Linked DNA regions of Homo sapiens: region 1 is linked to region 2. The links are contacts of gene promoters, found by promoter capture Hi-C in human tissues and cell types (Jung and others, 2019). All regions are on one chromosome and are shown on one strand. The core of a region is centred on a gene start or on the middle of the fragment in contact, and the rest is flanking DNA. Distances in the headings are between cores, read along the strand shown. Region 1 has its middle 100 kb from the start of PRSS1. Region 2 holds the start of PRSS1 (serine protease 1).

Region 1 (2,937 bases), core at 27-2,526, 100 kb after region 2:
TTTAAAAAATTGTCACCTGTATCTTTATGGTAAACACTGATGATATTCTGGCAGTAGGTGAGAGGGTTGCAGGGGTGGGGGGTGGAGAGAAAGAGAGACAGAGATTGGAATCTCTTTACATTGCTAGACTGAGAACAATCTAGATCACTGGATAAGGATTAAAGGAGATATTAGGATGTAGGAAAACACCCTATTCACTTTTATGTGGGATTGCAGATGTATACAGTGATCCTGAAGAACCCGTGGTGGTATTTAGATAGATAAAATATGCATAGAATTCCATGTCTCAGCAATCATGACTTGCTCTGGGTATATAATCCTATAAAGCAATCATACAAGTCTATGAAGGTATTTGTACAAGAATTTTCAATTCTGGCAGAAAACTGGAGAAAATCTGGCTATGTATTTCTGAAGAAATGGGTATGAGTACTCTCTATCATGTAGAAGCAACAAGACCAAATGTACTTACAGAAAAACGGAGCACTTCCCTTTCTTGAGCTGAGTGGAAAAGTAATATTTATGTGATTTTAAATATATACATACATGCCTACTGCTGAGTGCTCTGTGAGAAGGTTAATGGCTGGATCATGACTGATCTGTTTTTTTCTCTTGGGATTTTGAATTGAGGCTTAGAAAGAGCCAGCCTGGTATTTATCAGTGTAGGGAAATGATGGCAACTGAATTTGTAATCTTTAGTGACCATCTCATTCTCACCACGAGGCCTGGAGAAAAAGAGATGGTGTACAGGGAGAGAAAAGCATTCAGCAGCCAAAATTGAATAAAAATCAGCGCTGGAGAGATAGCCATTCTAGAGCCCAGCCCTAGTGGTGCCTTTTCAGAACTTCTATCACCTCTTGACTTCTGCTAAACACCCTTTATCCTTGTGTTAAATTACACTGTGGCTTAAGCTGGCTCCAGTTATTTTCTGTTACTCCCTTCCAGCCTAATACATCACCTGCTTCCTGAGCTGGGTCTGTGACAAGTTTGTGTGCTAAGAGGAACTGACATTTCAGTGCTGTGGATTGACTGCTGGCGCAGAGATACAGTGCCGTGTCTCCCGGTTCTGAGGACAGGATTGCCAGGCTGCAGGGTGCGTTCTTGGGGCATTGAGATGAGAATCGCTTCTTGTGCATCTCCGTTTCTTGAAGAACTTGTTCATTCTGAAAGGAAATCAAAAGCATAAACTCTTTATTCTGATTCTGTTGATACCAATAAACAAAAGTATGTCCTTTTTCGGGGGTACAATCCATCTTTGTTTTCTGTCCTTTTCCTTTGACCAAATGTCCTGGAGTCTGTGTGACTTTGGCATGAAAAGAGTCTGTAAGAGAAAGAAACAGATGCTGTAGAAAGAGTCCAGGAAAGAGCTTAACAAACAAAACAAAACAAAACAAAACAAAACAAAACAAAACAAAACAAAGCTTGGATCTGCTGGTTGGCAAGCCCAGGACAAGGATTTTTCTTTTGTGCTCAGGGCGCATCTGCTGCCAGGAGACACAGGGCTGCACAGCCGAGGAGCCTGGTGCCCATGATCGCATTGACGTTGCAAAGGGATGAGGCTTTTTCATCCCCTTTCTGCACCTTCTTGTGACGTGATCCCTCCACTGACTTATAATCATCATGTTATTGCTTCATGTTCCTGAGCAAAAACACTTCATAGTATCAGGGAAAAAAAGCTTTTATCCTAACTCAGGAAATATAACTCAGTTATTTTGTATTCATTTAAAAATATGTTATGTCTATTTTTGCTAATATAAGCAATACACTCATATTTTAGAAAGTTAGAAAATAAAATAACAAAATAAAAATATGATACCACTGCCAGAAAGCAATTATCACTGTTAACACCTTAGTGAGTCTTTCTAGATCCTTCTCTGCCCCATATATAAATGTGTAGATATATAGACACTTTTTTTAGTAAACAATATTCTTGAAATTCTGTTTGATAAGCTTTTTTTCAGTTAATGATCATCCTTTCTCATCGATGCATTTTCATCTTATCTACTATTTAGTTTTTATGCAAAGTTTCACAGTTGTTTCAAAAACGTCCTTTGCCATTAATTTGAGCATCAGTTTCTAACTCAAGACTGGACATTCCTTCTGGCTATTAGTTATCTAATTATCTTTTATATATTTCAGATCTCTGTTGTAATTGCTATCTTTATGATTCTGAAACTAGTGACTGCTTTGAAAAATACTTCACCTTCTAGCTCTTTCTGGTGTATTTTAGCTTGTTCATTTACTAGTGCTTCTTTTACATAACCTCCCTTTTTTGCTTTTTCTCTCTGTAACTATTTATTTTAAATTGTGCATTTTTTGATGATTTTTTTTTTCGCTTACTTTTCTCTTCCTCCATCTCATCCTCATTTCAGGTAAGTAATGTTAACAGCTTAATGTATATCTTTCCATAGATTTCTCCTTACTAATTTAATTGTTCAGTGAGGTTGTTTTCTCCACATTACAAAATGGACTTTGAATATATAGATAATAACTTGATAAAATACCAACAGAATGATCACTTAAAAAAACAACTTGGCACAGGAAATAAAAGATTACCAGAATATTTGAAAGCTCTTATTTCTTTTCCCAGATTCCATGCCTCTGTTCTCTAACTCTATTGAGGTGTTTGTTTTTGTAATTATTTGCTTCTCTTTTATATTTTAATGCATAGGCACATAAGCAAACAAAATAGTGTTTAGTTTTAGATGCTTTCAAACTTTACACAAACGAGACAATACTGTACCTTTCTTCTGCAATGTAATTTTTCATTCAAATTTGTGAAATTCATTCATGTTTGTGTGTTTAGTTTTAGTTCATGAATTTTCACTGCTGTGTAATTTCTTTTTAATAACCAGGATTTATTCTTCTCTTAAGTTACATTTGGATATTTTATACGTTTTTGCCATGACAGATGTATTACAGTGAATATTCTTGTCCTGA
Region 2 (3,237 bases), core at 292-2,791:
TGTGTAGCTAACCAGCAAAAGATACTTGCCTGCTTTTCTCACTAGCTCTCACCACCCCAAGATCATCCCTGCCTGCTTTTATGACCACAACCCTTGCTGTTTCATGGATTTGCCTGGGTGTGAGAGGTTCCTGTCTTGTGTTCACTCTCTGCTCTGGAGAGTCCGCAGCTGCCAACAAGTTTTCTTCTCCACCACCTCTCCCATCCATCTTACCCAACCTCAGTAGTTCCCTGGGCTGAAGCCAAGCTCTCCCAGGCAGACTGGCCGGGAGCTTTGCAGTCGGGGGCCCCACACTTACGACTTGTAGCAGTGGCCTGCTGATACCACCCACTGTTCGTTGATGAGGGAGCCACCACAGAAGTGGTAGCCAGAATTCAGGGACACCTGGTAGGGGACAGAATTCTCCTCACAGTTGTAGCCCCCAACGATCTTGTCATCATCATCAAAGGGGGCAGCAACTGGAGTGGAGATGGGAAGGGAGAAGGCAAGTCAATAGCATGTTAGGGGTGGCGCTCCCAGCCTGTGATTGCTTTCTGCTAATTAGAAATCCTTAACAAGCACAGTGAGGCTAGGCAAGGGAGGGAGCTCTGCCACCCCTGGTGATCATCACTGCCTGTGGCTCCCAAGTCTCTGTGCCTGCAGGGCACATAGCTAGGTACCCTGCGGAGGATCCGAGCTCTCCTGGGGTCACCAGGCTGAAGTCGCAAGGAATGTCCTCACAATGCTTCCAGTGGGATAGGAGTTGGGATGTGGTTGTCTCTCCCACTGAGTGCTTCTCTCTTTTATTCATCACCTGTGTACTTCCCCTGGCTATTTGGGCCCTGGATTGTCAGGATTCTTTTGCCAAGCTAGGAAAACCCCCTGTCTGCATAGACCTGGCCATGACCACCTTCCCCCATAGCTCAGATCTGTGCAGTCAGGGCAGAGTTGAGGGCAGCCCCCAGGCTCACTTTGGCAGAACAAAGGTAGACTTTGTTATTGGCCAATAGGACAGCAATTCTTAACCTTGGCTGCATGGCTGGAAATATTAAAAATCACCTGGGAAGCTTAAAAGCCCAGAACACAAGCTCTACCCCAGACAATTGAAGTTAGAATTTCTAGAGCTGAGTCTCTGGCATGAGTAATTTTTCAACCTCCCCAGGTGCATTCGAGGTTAGGAGCAGCTATAGTGGTGCTATTCTGTTGCTGTTGGAGCCAAGCCTGAAGCCTGCTGCTTCATTTCGTGGGACAGCCCCACCTGGCCCCCTTCCCAGCTTCTCCAACCACAACTCGGATATGGATGAATGACAGTGGTGGGAGTGAAGTCAAGGAGAAGGTGAACAGGTGAGACTTAAAAAGAGCCCAAGGAGGATGGGAAGGAGATATGCCAGATGGAGGAAACGGAATATCAGAGCACAGTCAAAAGAGGAGAGGTGGTAAGAATGGAAGGGCATTTGTCGGCCAGGAACGGGGGGGTGGTTGGGGCCTGAGGCAGGGCATGATACTCACGAGCAGCTGCCACAAAGGTAAGGATCAGGAGTGGATTCATGGTGGTAGAGTGTGCCTGACTGGTGGTGGAGGACTCGTCTTTATACCTCACGAGGATCCAGAGAGGAGGTGACTGTGAGGTGAGGGTCACCACTCCTCCCAGCACAAACACACCTGCAGCTTTCCTCTTCCCAGGGTCTTGCATCAGCCTGGCTATGTTTGGCCACTCTCTGGGTTTGTGATTCACAGGTGATAAGGAAACTTTCCTTCTGAGAGCAGAGAGCGAGACCGGCTGTTTCCTGCAAGGATACTGGGATGGGGAAGACAGGGAAAGTCAAGCCCCAGATAACAGAGCTGGGCTTTCTTAGGCCCTGGAGATGAGGGTTAGAAGGAGGGAGAATGGCCTAGCTGTTTACAAATCTTTCCACCTATTGGGAATGTATTTAATGTACTTAAGGAAGGGCAAGCATTGGTAAAAAGCTTGGATTTCAGTTTCCTGGGGCCCACATGAGAGGAGCAAAGTCTTATCTAAGGCTCATTCCTGTGAATATGAAGATGCTTCTCTCCAGTCAGTGTGCAGGAAGGTCAAATGCAAGATTTTGGGGAATGAAAATTCCAACACTAAGGGGTAAGGAGAAGGGAGACTCAGCATTCCATAGGATTCTGGGCTTCCAGATTTCTCTCCTTCCTACCAAGGCTTAAGGATGGGAAGTGTTTCAAAGAAGGAGGGGGCACAGTTTCTGTAGGAGCTTTCTCAGTGCCTCTGGAGGATGGAAAACCAATGGCGCACTCCTCCCCTTCTTCAATGTGAAGACATTTGTCTCTCTCATGTGCATCCTGTCATAGGTTCTTTTTATGCAGCCTCACTGTTGTCCTTGCAATCTGCACTCAGGTGATGCAAACTGACCCACCTGCTCAGGGCTGACAGTCTGAACCAGAATGATCAGATGATCATTTTCTATTTTCGATGCAGTGAGATTATGCTTGGCTCAGTACAAAGTGAATCTTCCTAGAGAATATCCTGATTTGGGCCCTACCAAGGCTACTAAGACACAGTTGTGTAATTGACTGAGGCACAACCTGGCCAGAGCAGTGTGGAAATGGAGATGCTGTCTGTGCTCAAGTCTAATGATGTAGGGAAAGGAGGAGCTTCCTTATGAGGGTGCTTTCCCTTCTCAGCAACTCTGAGCTCAGGCTGGTGATGGGCAGGAGTAAGTAGAGTTCAAGTTTGGATTCTTTGAAAGGTAAAAGAAGCAGAAATGTTCTAGAGACGGTGGACAAAATGGGAAAAGCTCAGAAACTTGGTGTTGAAATCGGACCTGGCCAGGGGGCTAGAGGGAGGAAGCAAATGGAAACCAGAGGGAATTGGAAATAATGCCAAAGTGGGGCCCATGGTGTTGAGAGGACACACAGAGTACCTTCGGTTTCAGCTCCTGGTATGGCTGCTGAGCCAGCTTCCCCACAGCCAGGAGACCCACTGCTTGGAGACCCCCTCTCCGCCTCGCACCCCCTCTAATCACTAATGGGCCCATACCTAACACTGCTATGCTTAGATGGTGCACAGTGCCTGACAACTTTACAAGAGTTTTCATGTAAGCAACAGTGGTACATTACTTTTCATTTATGCTGAGTTTCACACTTTAACTTCCCACAAACATGCTAATTGTAATTTGTGCAGAGCAAAATTGTTTCCATTTATAGAGCAAGAGACTGAGATTCAGAAGGATTCTGTCTTGCCCAAGAATACAGATCTTGGCAGAGCTGACCATA

The links. Contacts are between HindIII fragments. The study calls those that stand out against the background at their distance.
Region 1: a fragment that was not itself captured here is called in contact with the fragment with the promoter of PRSS1 in region 2 in 3 of the 25 tissues and cell types used here (aorta, dorsolateral prefrontal cortex and pancreas).

The regions. Positions count from the first base shown.
Region 1 is chr7:142,644,551-142,647,487 of GRCh38, reverse strand. It overlaps TRB and the pseudogene TRBV23-1. Among named protein-coding and RNA genes, the nearest start is that of PRSS1, 100 kb to the left of the region's middle. The HindIII fragment of the contact is 4,098 bases long and covers 1-2,937 here.
Region 2 is chr7:142,747,776-142,751,012 of GRCh38, reverse strand. It overlaps PRSS1 (serine protease 1), which reads right to left and starts at 1,541. Exons shown (of 5, transcript NM_002769.5): 1 at 1,489-1,541; 2 at 299-458. The coding sequence starts at 1,528. It also overlaps TRB. The HindIII fragment of the contact is 6,237 bases long and covers 1-3,237 here.